2 separate regions of the Homo sapiens genome follow, and region 2 is linked to region 1. The links are contacts of gene promoters, found by promoter capture Hi-C in human tissues and cell types (Jung and others, 2019). All regions are on one chromosome and are shown on one strand. The core of a region is centred on a gene start or on the middle of the fragment in contact, and the rest is flanking DNA. Distances in the headings are between cores, read along the strand shown.

Region 1 (7,686 bases), core at 2,715-5,214:
TCAAAAAGAAAAGGAAAATTGCTTGAGTTTCACTTGCATTATGGAAATAATAGTGCCCACCTTATGTCACAGGATTCATATGAGGATCAAATGAAATAATTTATAAACATGTTTAGAGAATGTCTTCGCCTATTTTCTACTACTGTAATAGAATACCAAGACTGGGTAATTCATAATAAAAAGAAGCATATTTGGCTCACAGTTCTGGAGGCTGGGAAGTGCAAGAGCATAGTACCAGTATCTGTTGAGGGTCACCCCATGGCTGAAGGCATCACATGGAAGGAGTAGTGTAAGAGAAAGAAAGACAGGGAGGAGCTGAACTCATCCATTTTATCAGGAAACCACTCCCACGGTAACAGCATTAATCCATATTATGTGAGGGAAGAGCTCTCATGACCTAATCACCCCTTAAGGGCCTCACCCTCTTAATACTGTACCATGGCAATTAAATCTCAATGTGAGTTTTGGAGGGGACATTAAAACCATAACAGAGAATTATAACTTTAAGACCATATTAAGTATGTACCATATTACCTTTTTTTTTTTTTTGAGACAGAGTCTCGCTCTGTTGCCAGGCTGGAGTGCAGTGGTGCAATCTCGGCTCACTTAAACCTCCACCTCCTGGGTTCCAGTAATTCTCCTGCCTCAGCCTCCTGAGTAGCTGGGACTACAGGCGTGTGCCACTACGCCCAGCTAATTTTTGCATTTTTAGTAGAGACAGGATTTTACCATGTTGGCCAGGATGGTCTCGATCTCTTGACCTCATGATCCACCCACCTCAGCCTCCCAAAGTGCTGGAATGGTACAGGCGTGAGCCACCGTGCCTGGCCTGTACCATATTTCATCCAATCTTAGACACATCCATTGTATGACACGCCATTAATTTATATACCACTAAGAAAGAAACAATGTGGCTAATTTAAAATTATAATATCTTATCACTTGGAACTTGTAATACCTAGTGAAACAACTCTTCTATACTTAATTAGACATGGATTGTTATATCTAATTCCTGTGCAAACATTAAGAGGAAAATATAAATGAAATAAATTGGCTAAGGTATTCTTTTTTGGGGGGGGATGGAGTCTCGCTGTTGCCCAGGCTGGAGTGCAATGGCACAATCTCGGCTCACTGCAATCTCTGCCTCCCAGGTTTCAAGTGATTCTCCTGTCTCAGCCTCCCGAGTAGCTGGGACTACAGGCATGTGCCAGCACACCAGCTAATTTTTGTATTTTTTCTGAGAGACAGAGTTTCACTATGTTGGCCAGGCTGGTCTTGAACTCCTGACCTCGTGATCTGCCCGCCTTGGCCTCCCAAAGTGCTGGGATTACAGGTGTTAACCATGGTACCCGGCCAAGGTATTCTTAAACTTCTCATTCAGGCCAACGTTCCTGAATCACTTCTCAACTCAATCACTGACATCTATGTTTATCCACGTAATAGCCTTATTTGTGCCAATGAGAATATTGTTGTTGGTCAGACGCGGTGGCTCACACCTGTAATCTTAGCACTTTGGGAGGCCCAGGTGGGTGGATCACAAGGTCAGGAGTTCAAGACCAGCCTGGCCAACATGGTGAAACCCCATCTCTACTAAAAATACAAAAATTAGCTGGGTGTGGTAGTGCGCACCTGTAATTCCAGCTACTCAAGAGGCTGAGGCAGGAGAATTGCTTAATTGGAACCCAGGAGGTGGAGGTTGCAGTGAGCTGAGATCACACCACTGCACTCCAGCCTGGGCTACAGAGTAAGACTCCCTCTCAAAAAAAAAAAAAAAAAAAAAAAAAAAAAAAGAATAATGGTGAATGCAGCATTTCTTCTAAGAATCTAGAAAAATAAATAAAAATCAACCAAAGGACATACCAATGGTTCCATTAAACCAGAAGTTGAGACTGTCTCCTGGTTATCTTGGGCTCCTCATTGCCAAGTGAACCTACAGGCAAAGAAAGGGGTTAACTGTACTGGCCAGAGTAATCGACCTTGTCTATTAAGGAGAAATTGGGTTCTTATGGCCCAATGTGGGTAAGGAGGAGTATATGTGGAAAGTATGAGATCTCTGGGGGTACCTCTTACAAGCCTTGTGTTCTGTGATTTTAGAATTGCTTATGTTTCACTTTTTGCTAATTTATAAAACATACAGCAGTTTGTTGTACAGGATAAACTCACTGAAAACATTTGACCAGAAGTCTGATAAGAAAAACGGGGAGGGCCATATGCTTAAGATTAGTGGTGTGTACATAAGCATTTTTTTAAATTTTTGTTTGTTTTGAGACAGGGTCTTGCTCTGTGGCCCAGACTGGAGTGCAGTCTTGCAATCATGGCTCACAGCAGCCTCTGCCTCCCGGGCTCAGGTTATCCTCCTACCTCAGCCTCCTGAGTAGATGGGACTACAGGCACATGCCACCATGCCTGCCTAATTTTCAGTATTTTTTTTTGTAGAGACAGGTTTTTACCATGTTGCACAGACTGGTCTCAAACTCCTGGGCTCAAGAGATCCACTTGCTTAGGCCTCCCAAAATGTTGGAATTACAGGTGTGAGCCACTACGCCCAGCCATGAGTGTTTATTTTATTTATGCCTTACATATTCTTTTTTTTTTTTTTTTTTTTTTTAGAGACAGGGTCTTGCTCTATTGTCCAGGCTGGATTCAACCTTGTGGGCTCAAGTGATCCTCCTGCCTCAGCCTCTGGAGTAGCTGGGACTACGGATGCATACCACCACATTCTGCTCATGCCCTATATATTCTTTTGTATGTATGGGTGTAAAAACAGAGATAAAAACAGAGATATGGATGCCATCAACTCACTGATGTTTGAAGTTCTGAGAAAGCATAAATCAGTAAAGGAGTTAACTGAAATTTAAATCTCACAAATGAGCAAAAAATATGATTTCTGGTATATGATCTATGGGGTTCTTTGAATACTATTGCTTAAGAATAAAATACTTTGCGATTTCAATAAATTGAAAATTATGGTACAAGGCAAGGAAGGGGAGCTACTAGCTATGAGACTTTTGTAAATTATGTAACATCTCTGAACCTCTGTTTCCTCATCTGTTAAAATAGGGACAAAGTGCTACTTAGGTAAGACACTTCAGAAATGGGGCTCTGAAAAAAGTCACTTTTCTTCTCCTAACGAAAGGTTTCTAAACCTCAGCACTCCAGACATTTCAGGCCAGGTAATTCTTTGTTGTGCGGCGCTGTCCTGCGCACTGTAAGGCGTGAAGCAGTATTCCCGGCCTCTACTCACCTGTGCCCTCCACCATCTGTAGATTCCAATGACATCTCACCCCAGATGAGAGGCTGAAAATGATTCATACATTGCCAAATGTCTCCTGGGAGGCAAAACTGTTGCAGTGGAGAACCGCTGTCCTAACCCCATGTTCATCCAATAAAGGGTTTGAGGGACTGAGAAATGAAACAATAGTCCCGAAGGAGTAGAATGCAGTGGCCCCAACTCCTAGTTTCATGAAGGCAGGAACTGTGACTCAGAGGCCTGGGGATGCGGAGCTCTGAACTGCCAGCTGGTAGGAAAAGTCCTAATTAATGGATTGAATCATGAAGGGAGGGCAACAAGGAACAAATGGAGAGGGCCAGTGGCCGAGCCTTCGGTCTCAGGATCAAAGAGGCCCACACTGGTCACCACTTACGCTGCTGGGCTGACTGCTAGGTAGACGTATCTGCAGATAAACCGAGACAATGACGCGGTGGGAAAGGCCTTGGGGAGCGAGGAGGAGGAGCCGGGAGAGGCCAGCTTTGGTCCGGCGGCCACCGCCCCAGGCGCCGCGACTCGAGCCTCAGGCCCCGCCCCTCGCCCTCCTGGTCCCGCCCCCGCTCTCCGAGCCCCGCCCCTCGCCCTCCTGGTCCCGCCCCCGCTCTCCGGGCCCCGCCCCTCGCTCTCCGGGCCTGGGCGGGTGGCGCCTTGGCCTCCGCCTCCGCTCGCCTGCGCGCGGCCCTGCGTGAGGGGGCAGAGGCGAGGTGGAGGCGTTGGCGCTGCCACGTCTGGGCCGCGGTTCCCAACTGTGGCGCGGGCGGTGGAGGAGGAGGTGGGGCTGGCGCTGAAGCCGGATCCGGATCCGGTGCTGTGCACACTGGTGGGGGAGAGTCCGACGCGCCTGGCTAGGAGCGCCGACCGCAGGGCCTCTACGGGTGAGGAGGGACCGGGGCCGGGGCGCGAGAGCAGGACCGTGTGTCCTGGGGGCTGGGGCGGGCCTGCCCTCAGGTTTATCTAACAGGTGTGTCTGGTGCCCCGGCCAGGCCCCCGGGGGTGTTGTGTGGAGGAGCTGGGCGTTAATCCTCGCCAGCTGGGTGCACATGGTGTGGAGCGCGGTTCCCAGGAAGTTGAACGCACGCGCGCCTGGAGCAGAGGTTAAGGATGATGGCCAGCGGTCCGGCCATACGCTGGTCTTGGCCTGGCAGGGCTGGAACTGGGACTGGGGTCGGAACTTCGCTCCCCAGACTTTGGCGTGGGAAATGAGACAGTTGGTCGCGCTCTCTGCAGCCATCGGTTTTGAATGGGCACGAACGTCCCAGGCCCCTTCTCTTCTCCCATTCCCGGGCGCATCCCACGGTGGTCGGAGCCATTGAGGCAGCTGCTCCGAAGACCACCTCCGCACCGAGTAGGTCGGCGCTTTCCCCAGGGTACAGAGGGACATTCTTTGTCTCTTTTTCCTAGGCTCCTACCCCTAGAAATACCGAGTACTGTACTGTGATTTCTGTTGCGGGAGCTGATGTTTATGTAAGCCAAACTAATTTAAAATTTTCATACAAAATTGAACGGGCGATTATAGGATTCGTTTTGTTAGGATAATCCCTCATGAACGAATCCTAGAATGGATCTTAAGAAATTAATTTAGGCAGGATTTGCTAAATAGGGGAGAGAGCGCTAGCTGTATGGTATGATGATGTAAAGATTGGGGTCTGTTGAGGATGGTAATCGAGCTCAAGATGCGAAAACGAGGATTCTAGCCCCAAGTCACTTACTTGCTGTGTTACCTAAGGGGCAAGTCTTGGGAGTTCCAGGTGCTCCAGCTTCCTCATCGGTAGACTGGGAATAACGCCTAGATTGTAAAGGTCAAACTATCAGAAAATACTTTTGAACATTCATGCAGTTACACAATTTAATAAATATGGCCAGGTGTGTTAAAAATCTTTAACGGAATAGATTCAGAATGGATTCTTGTTATCGAAATTGTTATAAAATGAATATAAAGGAATCCGAAGTCCGCCCCTCCCCCATTCACCTGTACTTAGAAGGTTCCCCAGGAGCTCTTGAGAAATACATAGGCTGGTTTAGATTTGGCCTTAGATTGTATTTTTTAAAATTTGTAGATCGACTTTTAAAATCTTCATCTCCGGTGTCTATTACTTGTTGCTCTCCGTTGGTTGCTTCTAGCAGCAGCCTCTCTCCCCATTCGTATTCCAACCTGATACAGAGGCTCAGACGCCAAATAGTTGAAGTTTTGTTTAAAAAATATTCAATTGAGTGAAAAAATATTCAACTGATGTGATGACTAGTAAAAATGAATTTGGTGTATGCTTTCCGCGATATTGTGGCAGTTTGGGAATTTTTTTTTTTTTTTTTTTTTTTGTCCTTCTGGATTTTCTGAAATGTGACCTACAGGTAAGTCTTATTCGTTATTCATTCACTAGGCATTATTGGGCTAGGGTTAGGCTTAAACGGGTCTTCTAAACGCCTGCTAATTTAGCAGTTAATCAGAAAAGGTTCTGAGGAATACTTAAGGAGGATTAGTGTTTAAAGTTCATCTAAAAACTTTAAAGAACCTAATGATATGATGAGATTCCGCTTCACACAACTGTGCAATTTTATTCGCAGAAATTTCCTAGTTTTGCAATATCTGGGCACCTGAAGATGCTAAAAGATTATTTATATAAAATTACTTATTTAATTATGTTCTAAACCCCCTTGGAACCAGGTTTCAAGTCATATCTTGCTTCACTTTGCCCAGTACCTTAGTTGGGCACCAGCAGAATTTTACGGTTTGAGGACAGAGTGAGCTAAAGTGGGCCTTCAGTATGGCTCTGTTTTGTAGAATAGCTCATAAAAAAATTTTTGATGTTAATTTCTGATTGCCTGGTTAATAGATTCTTATTTCAATCTGTAATGCTTTGTTTAATGTATTTTGACTAGTCTGATTCCCATTTTCCAAATGTAGGTTCTAAGTGCTGCTTATGACTTAATTTTTAACCCTTGTACAACAGTAAGATAGGGAATTTATCTACTCTAGTGCATCTTCAGTGTAATGGTTAAGAGCAGAGTCTGAAGTCATACTACCTAGCAGGACTGGCTACGTAATCTGTGGTAATCCAAATTAAAATGCAGGGTTCCTTGTTAAAAAATTAAGAACTTCAAAACAGTGGCAGCAGGGTATCAAACTTAAGTGCAGGGCCCTGTGTAACGGCACAGGTCAGGGGCTTCTGAAGCTGGCCCTGTTGCCTCATTTTGAATCCTCACTCTGTTCTTATTGGCACTCTAACCTTGAGCAAGTTACTGTGCCTGCTTCCTTATCTGTAAAATTGGGATAATAATGATACATCGTTCATTGTATTTTTAAGAGTTAACATATAGAAAGTTTTCAATAAGTGTTAGCCAATATTATTTATTTTTATGATCATTCGTGGAAAAGGACTGTCTCATCAAAGAAAAGTACAAGAAAATATTAGTATTTCCTGGTTAAAATTCATTATTTAAGGGCTTCATAATCCTAGTTGTTTTCCTGTATACTTCTTCCCTCTCATGAAAATTATTAACCCTATTTTTCATGTTTTCTAGACCACATTTTTATTGTAAACACAGACAACTTTATAGGAAAAAGGAATCTAGTTAAATGTGGTTAAGGTTGATTTAAATTCTCTTTTGAGTTTTCTTTGAACTTTGTATTTACAACTATATGTTTAATAGCAAGACCAAAATGTTTAAATAGTGTGCTGCCTCGAGGAATTTACATTTTTAATACTGTACACATTTCACTTTATTAATACTTAGCCTGTTTATCTACATACCTGAAAAACAATGTTGCTACCTACCATTCAGATGAGATTACACACAAAAACCTCAAGGGTCCAATTTAGACAAAACACTAAAACACGTGGACTCAATTTCATCTATTAAAAACTTGTTTTGGCTGAGCATGCTGGTTCACACTTGTAATTCCAGAACTTTGGGAGGCTGAGGCTGGAGGATCACTTGAGGTCAGGAGTTCAAGACCAGCCTTTCCAACATGGCAAAGCCCCATCTCTACTAAAAATACAAAAATTAGCCAGGCGTGGTGGTATGAGCCTGTAGTCACAACTACTCTGGAGGCTGATGTGGGAAGCTGAGGTAGGAGGATCACTTGAGCCCAGGAGTTTGAGGCTGCAGTGAGCTATGATTGCACCACTGCACTCCAGCCTGGGCAACAGAGTAAAACCCTGTCTCAAAACAATAAAACAAAACAAAAAACCTATTTTGAATGGCTATTAAACTTGTTAAATTTGAAATGACTGCTTGATCATCACAATTTCTATATTTTCCTTAATATTGTTAGAACTGGGTATAGTGTATGCAGCATAATTTGAATCATTTTGTGTGTGTGTGGCTGGGGGGACCTCTCAGCAGTCTACATTATAAACTACGTTCTTTTCTACCCAAGAATGCTAACTTTTGGTATAACATAAACGTAAGAGCCTGTC
Region 2 (7,686 bases), core at 3,787-6,286, 550 kb before region 1:
CCCAGGTTCAAGTGATTCTCCTGTCTCAGCCTCCCAGGTAGCTGGGACTACAGGCATGCACCACCACACCCAGCTAATTTTGTATTTTTAGTAGAGATGAGGTTTCACCATGTTAGCCAGGCTGGTCTTGAACTCCTGACCTCAGGTGATCCACCCACCTCGCCCTCCGAAAGTGCTGGGATTACAGGCATAAGCCACCGCGCCCGGCCTCAACACAGACTTTTTAATAAATAGTTTTCTCTATAGCACAATGGAATTTGATTTCTGAACAACAGGAATGCCTTTCTGTGGGAACTGCACACATCATTAGAAGTGCCCACCTTCCTCTTTTAAGCTAGTACTGCCCTTCATTTTGCCTGAGCTCAGGAAAATGGCAGACGGGGGTCCCCTACCAAGTGATCACTGACCCAAGGGCTATTCATCCCTGAGGGAGTTAGCGTTTTCTGACCTAGCCTGGGACACAAAGATGAGCCAATTTTCCTCTCAAGATTTTGAACTTATTTGAATATGGAAAGATTGAAGCTATTAGTAGGAGGAGATGAAGCAAAATGTTTATGAGTAATAGAGAGCCTAGAGGGACCAGTAGGGCCCTGAAAACCCCTGATAATGTAGCACAATGAAGGAAAGGGCTTCAGCATAAAGGAGAAATCCAAAGTCTCAAAAGCAGCTTGGGACCTGGGCTCCTATCAATGTCCTGACCACCGGGCTGCAGGCTGAGGGGTCCTGGGCCCCAGCAGAGTGACTTCTGTGAGGCACCAAAAGCAGGAGACACCAGTTCAAATGAGCACTAGGCAGAACTCTTGCTTTAGTCAGCATCACGCTACCCAATTATTTGAGCTCAATAAGAGTCACAAATAAATCTCTGTGTAGTATGAGGATGCTCATTACTTCCTAATCTGGATTTACATAGCTATTTGAACTAGCTACACACAACTATTTAATCAATGTGCATTGATACTTCTACTAAAGCTAGTCAGTAAATAAAATTATAGGCTATGAAAGTTTTAGCCAAAGGTCATCTACCTGTAAATATTTTACATAAATGCCCAGTGATTCTTTGGCCAAGAAAATAGGGTCACCTAATGTACCTACAACATGTGTACAATATAACCTCCTAATTGAAATACATCTGAATGTCTATGAGGAGTTTTAGATTTCAAACCCCATTTAAAAATATATCTACTAAAAGCAAGTGATAGGGTTCTATCTATCTTTGCTCTTACTCTCTTGGATACTCACAAATCTGTTGGGCCTTAGATCTTTATTGCTGGGAACATAAGGAGTGCCTTTTGAGTTCTCATAAGGAGCTGTTAGCTTTGCAACTAGAAGAAGAAAAAGTTCCATAGCATCTACTATGCCCCTAGTCCTAGAAATTTCATTTAGTTATTCAAAAGACATAAGTTGAGGTTCTACTCTGTGCTTCCTTTATGGAGCAAGGTGACATATAAGAGCAGATGTGAGTTTTATAAGCTATCCTAGGTTTTCAAAACACCTACATGAAATATATTCCACCCCAAAGGTATACTACAATCTCTATAAGAGAGAGGCCTGAGTGTGTGCATTTTCATAACAATTTTCTAGAGGATTCTGATGTTCTTACTCTCTTTCCCAGCCCCACTCTCCCTTGCTAGTTAGAGCTATGATGCAGACAATAGGGATTCAATCATAAAATTATGTGGTTTATCTTGAGAATGGAAAATAAAAAACATGGTTAACGAAACATCGTTAAAAATAATACATCTTTTTATAGTCTTTATCATGCTCATTTTGGTATGCTAAGGATATGCATAGTTTAGGTATGTTAAAGTGAACTAAGTATGGCCTGAGAAGGACTCTGTACTTCTATATTTGAGTCCTTGTGGACTAACTGCAACCTATATTGAAAACCTAACTAGGAGTATGCACCTGTAATAATACCTGAGTCTTGGCCAATCCCAGCGGTCGTACTTCAACCATTCATACACTGCTGAGTGTTCAAACTGTGTTCAAATAAGGCAAAAGCCAACCTGTAACCAATCCAGCTGTTCTGTACCTCACTTCTGATTTCTATATGTCATTTCCAGTTTTTTGTCTATAAATCTTCTTCCACCACGTGGCTGTGCTAGAGTCGCTGCCAATCTGCCATAATTCTGGGGGCTGCCCGATTTGCGAATCATTCATTGCTCAATTAAACTCCTTTAAATTTAATTCAGTTGAAGTTTTTCTTTTATCAAGTACTAATTTGGCTGCTGCAAAAGAGAGTTCCAAAATATAGTAACATAGAAAAAAGTTTTGTCTCTCACATAAAAGTCCTGAAGAGTGGGCCGGGTGCGGTGGCTCACACCAGTAATCCCAGCACTTTGGGAGGCCGAGGCGGGCTGATCATGAGGTCAGGGGATCGAGACCATCCTGGCTAACATGGTGAAACCCCGTCTCTACTAAAAATACAAAAAATTAGCCGGGCATGGTGGCATGAGCCTGTAGTCCCAGCTACTCAGTAGGCTGAGGCAGGAGAATCGCTTGAACCCAGGAAGCAGAGGTTACAGTGAGCCGAGATCGCACCACTACACTCCAGTCTGGGCGACAAAGCGAGACTCTGTCTCAAAAAAAAAAAAAAAAAAATCCTGAAAAGTGGCCGAGGTTTGTTGGCTGACCCCATAATTATCACAGACCTACGTTCCTCCCATTTTGCTACTTTGACATCCTCTGCATGAGGCTTTCATGGTGACTGCTCTAGTCTCTCCCATTACCTCTGCAGTCCAGCCAGTGGCAAGGGGCCCAGGGGAGGAGAGGACATGGTCCTTTTCCATAAGAACCCAACCCAGAAGTTGGATTGAGCCACCCATCACAACCATTTACCTCCCTGGTCAGAGCATGGTCATGTTATCAAGCCTAACTAACATACAGGCAGCATATGTCCCATTAGAATTTGTATTATTGGGATAAAATGGGAGAGGAGAGACACTGGATACAATTAGCAATTTGTGTCACACATTACTAATAGAAGTCTGTAAGTGAATTGAAGTCTGCCTCAGTTTTAACAAGGAGCAAAAGAGTGCAACACTCAGTCTGCTCCTTAGGATTGTTTTTGATATGAACTGTCCTAGTTTGAGTACCTTGGGAAACAGACTCTGAGGTGGAGATTTGTGTGCAGAAGGTTTGTTGGGAAGTGTTTCTCAGGAATAGCGCCTGTGAGGGAACAAAGCTGGACTGGGCAGGGGGAGGAGTTGAAGTGTGGTGCAGTCCCAGAGGCCTCTGCTGATCCCATGGAGAGCTCTGGAGCTAGGATGGCCTTTTTTGTGATGGCCCTAAATTGAAGCAAGGCACCAGATCTTTGTACCCCCCTGCATTAACCTGTTAGAGTATCCAGACTGCCCTTGAGGAGGAGGTTTAATCCTGGGTATGGTGGCTACCTTAGGACAGCATTTCTCAACCTCAGCACTTTTGACATTCTGGAATGGATAATTATTGTAGGATACTATGCATTGCAGGATTTTAGGAGCATGCCTGAGCTCTACTCACTCGATGTTAGTAGCATGGGCACCCCCCTCAGCTGTAACAACCAAAAATGACCCTAGACATTGCCAAATATCCACTGTGGGGCAAAATCACCACCACTAGCAATCAGTGCCTTAGGCCAAGGGCAGTGCTTACAGATAAATTCAGCTGTAAACCATCACAGCCCATCTTCCCAACAGTTGGGAGAGTAAGTGCCTCCGTCCTAAAAGGGGCATCTAGGACCGTGACTACAAGATCACACAATTAAGGACAACGCTGGAGCTTCTGCCTCCCCATCCGGTGCTCTTTTCTCAGGAAAGTTATTTATAATTTACACAGTTCAAAAGAAAGAATAACTGATCTGGCCAGATAATCCTATAAGCTTAAGAAGGAGCCTGAGGAAAAGTCCCAGAGACTCTGAACTACGATTAAAAACTCATCAGCCAAGAGGAAATTCAAAGACAGCACAAGGACCTGGGTTTCCAGAATAGATGCACGAAAAGAGAATGGGGAATAAGAGAAGACCTGTTAGCATTCAGCTGCATTCCTGTGGATTAGAAAGCTCCAGTGCTGACGCTTCATTACATTCTTCTTGCCAGTCCTTTTCTGAAAGTAGTGCTCTTCTAGGCCCATAGGTAGCCTAACCTTTCACCCACATCTCAGACAAAGCTCTGCAGCCCCATCATTCACTTCCCTCCACTCCCTCCACCTTGCTTCACAACCAGCCCTTCCGGCCTCTTTGGACCTACTCGGTGCCTGCCTTCAGTTTCTCAGGCCCCCTGAGCAATCCTGTTTCCTGGAGGCTCTCAGGGCCTGAAGCCACATTCCTCCAGGCAATCTTGGGATAAGAGACCACATAATTGGGAGGAGGGGGATGAGAACATGGAGGTTCGTGCTTTCCTTCCTTTGCCTGAGAAGCAGCTGGTCTCCTATCGCTAACTAGATATTGAATGGACCAGCCTGACATTAAAAACCATGATGAGATCAAAATGACCACAGCAGGACTTTTTTTTTTTTAATTCAGAGCAAAAATACATGAGAGAGGGGAGAAAAAAAGAAGAAAACTGGTTAGAGTGAAACATTCCCCAAGAGTCACCTTGTTGGCTTTTTTCCAAGAATGAGGAAGGGGTGGTCAAGGCTACATGTTTAATGATCTGTCCCATCCAAGGATCCTGCTGCTTCTCAGGAACTTGGAGGCCAGATGCTACATCTTAGACATGGACCTATTCCTTCCAAACCCTGTCGCCAACTGGTTCCTTCAAACCACTGTGTCTAGGCCAAATTCGGTATCAGCAGACACTGGTGAAAATACGACTAGACAATTCACAAGCAAGAAGGCTATGTTGCTCTTTGTTAATTATACACACCCTCCTTCAGACATTTTCTTTAATATGCCATTTATACTATAGCTAAATTCGACTGAGCACTTAGTGTGTATCTCCTCTAAGGCTATGACCTTGACATGTGTTATCTTTTCAATCACATAAACCAAAAGTCTCACCCCCACCCCCGTTTTACAGATGAGGAAACTGAGGCACAGAGTCCAAGGTCACTTCCCAGAGGATGATGGCCATGGAGCCCAAACCCAGGAAATGTGGCTCCAGAGCCCTCTTGTCACCGTGAGGTCCACCCCCCTTGGTGCCCCTCCTCCTGGCCACACTTCTCTCCTACTGAGGAGAATGGAGGTGAACAGGGTAGTTCACCTTTGTGAGGGCACAAGCATAAAAACTAGCCTTAACCTCCCAGCAAGGGTCAGACACAAAAACTAACCACAGGAACACTTTCTTGCCAATCAAATCTTGCCAAACACCAAGCAATTTTGTGCATCAGACTCCGAGGGCAACAAGCCAGGTGAGATAATCTACAAAATTTGCTTTTAAAACGGCTGGAGAGGAAGCCGAAGGGGTCTGCTCTCCCTGAATATCCCACAGGGTGATCCAGCGCATGCGAATTTTCCCAATTTGAATGATTCTTTTTGAAATAGAAATGTAAAACTACCTTCAGTTTGCTCTTTTGCCAGGCCAAAATTACTTCCTTTCTATAAACACTCTAAAAATATTGACTGCCCCATAACCAAGTTAGTATTTGCTTTAATTTATGGTATTCCAAGTTGAGAGAGTACTGAAGTCAGAGTCAGAAAATCCAACTTTGACAAATGCTGGCAGTTTGGACCTGAGCTACGCATTTCCCTTCACTGGGCCTTAGCACTTTCATCCATAAGTGGCGACGATGCCGTGTGCAAAATGAAAAGCCACATGGCGCAGTAGTGGCGAGCTCAGGCTCAGCAGTCAGCCTCATGCTTGGTTCCTGACTTTATCCCTTCCTAGAGTGTGACACTAAACTTGTTATTTAACATCCCTGAGTCTCGATTTTCTCATTTTAAACTAGGGATAATTATAGTGCCAATCTGGGGGGTTGTCATAATTAAAGAAGATGTACATGTAAAGCTCTTAACTCAGAGCCCAGAACATGGCACACAGGCAACTTCCATTGAATTATAAAGGTCTATGGAAATCAAAGTTATATTCTGCCTGTTAGTTTTCCCTCTCAAATGCTACCACTCGATATCACCTTGCTTTTCTTTGAAATAATTAAATATTTAAATGCTAGTTTTCCAAGAAAAAAAATTAGTTTACTTTTGCTGAAATTTCTAAAATGTGCCTTATATCCATCTGAAAAAGAGCTCTTTCTAACTTGTGTCTTTCACAACCAAATTTTCTGTTGGAAAGGAAACCAAAATAAACCTTTATAATTTTAATGGCTCAAGGTAATTTTCCTTATTAGTGAGGGTAGTTCTAGCTGCTGTAAGAGGTAAACCCAGAAATCTCAGTGACTTCGTATGTTTTCTTTATGTGAACTTCTTTTTTTTTTTTTTTTTTTTTGAGACATAGTCTCACTCTGTCACCCAGGCTAGAATGCAGTGGCATTATCTTGACTCACTGCAATCTCCACCTCCCTGGTTCAAGCAATTCTTATGCCTCAGCCTCCCAAGTACCTGCGATTACAGGCATGTACCACCACACTTGGCTAATTTTTGTATTTTTAGCAGAGACGGGGTTTCACCATGTTGGCCAGGCTGGTTTCAAACTCCTGACCTCAGGTGATCTGCCCACCTCAGCCTCCCAAAGTGCTGGGATTACAGGCATGAGCCACCGTGCCCAACCTATGTGAGCTTATTTTATGTATGAAACAAAACAGATGTTCCTATTCAGTGTGCATGACTGTGTGTGAAGTAGGAGGGAGTAGGCACAAAGGCTTTTTACCACATTAACTCAAAAGTGACATGTTACTTCCATTCATGTTCCACTCATTGGACATATGGCCCCACTCCAGTGCAAGAGGGGTCTAGGAAATGTAGCTGGCCCCAGGCTGAGAAGCCACTCCTAGCACCTGTGGACAGCTACCCATCCCTGCCTCACCCTCTGAATAGAAGTTACGGTCATGTATTCAGATGTTTCATTTATTTGCCGTCTGTCAGATAGCTTTTCTAAACAAATAAGTAGTAGTCCTAGAGTTCAACTCTCCCAAATAAGATAACCTTGAACCCGAACAATTTGAGATCTCAAGTTGAATCTCACTGCTCATTTCACTGTCTTCCTGTGCTAATCCATGGAGAAAAGACCCTGTGTAAATTCAAAGTTTGTCATTAATTACTATTCAACATGTCTACATCCTAATAACTTCATGTCTTATTTAAGAAAAACACATAAAACACTGGGAATGGTGTCAGGTGGGTAATAAACGCTCAATATCAAGTAGTTATTATATGTCCTGTAGTCCCAGGTGAAAATATGAAGTGAAAGAGGCTATAGGAGAGTGAAGAGTAGGAGCCGATGGAACCATAACCCTCTGAGACCACATTGTTTCAAATGCCTAACCCTCCTGTGGAGTGACTCACTCTTCCCGACTTGGCATGACCCTCCCAGCTGTGATCTAGATCGCACACCCCATCCCTTCTTCACTGACATGGTCAGAGACACACAGAAGCCCTACGCTCTACTCTTCCCTCTGTACAACAGTGCTATGGGTTTTGCTGGCAGATAGTAAAATTTAGAAATGTTCATATATTCTGTATTTTTCTAGTGGGCTATATAATAAATTCTTAACTTATTCCCTCTGCCTCATAAGCTTTTCCAAGGGAAAATTTGGTTGATTTTTTTTCCTTTTATGTCTTAGTACATGACTACATGGAACAGCCTTTGGGGTACA

Evidence for each region. The method cuts DNA at HindIII sites, captures the fragments that hold promoters and counts their contacts. A contact is called where the count stands out against the background at its distance.
Region 2: a contact is called between a fragment that was not itself captured here and the fragment with the promoter of GNPNAT1 in region 1, in 2 of the 25 tissues and cell types used here (lymphoblastoid cells and mesendoderm cells).

The regions. Positions count from the first base shown.
Region 1 is chr14:52,787,885-52,795,570 of GRCh38, reverse strand. It overlaps GNPNAT1 (glucosamine-phosphate N-acetyltransferase 1), which reads left to right and starts at 3,964. Exons shown (of 6, transcript NM_198066.4): 1 at 3,964-4,143. LOC105370500 (a long non-coding RNA gene) reads right to left here and starts at 3,783. Exons shown (of 3, transcript XR_943867.3): 1 at 3,245-3,783. RefSeq lists enhancers at 3,342-3,856, 3,857-4,370, 4,478-4,567, 4,648-4,737 and silencers at 3,768-3,987, 4,088-4,167. The HindIII fragment of the contact is 28,817 bases long and covers 1-7,686 here.
Region 2 is chr14:53,338,094-53,345,779 of GRCh38, reverse strand. LOC105370504 (a long non-coding RNA gene) reads right to left here. Exons shown (of 4, transcript XR_943876.3): 1 at 1-7,686. Among named protein-coding and RNA genes, the nearest start is that of DDHD1-DT, 190 kb to the right of the region's middle. The HindIII fragment of the contact is 6,842 bases long and covers 1,616-7,686 here.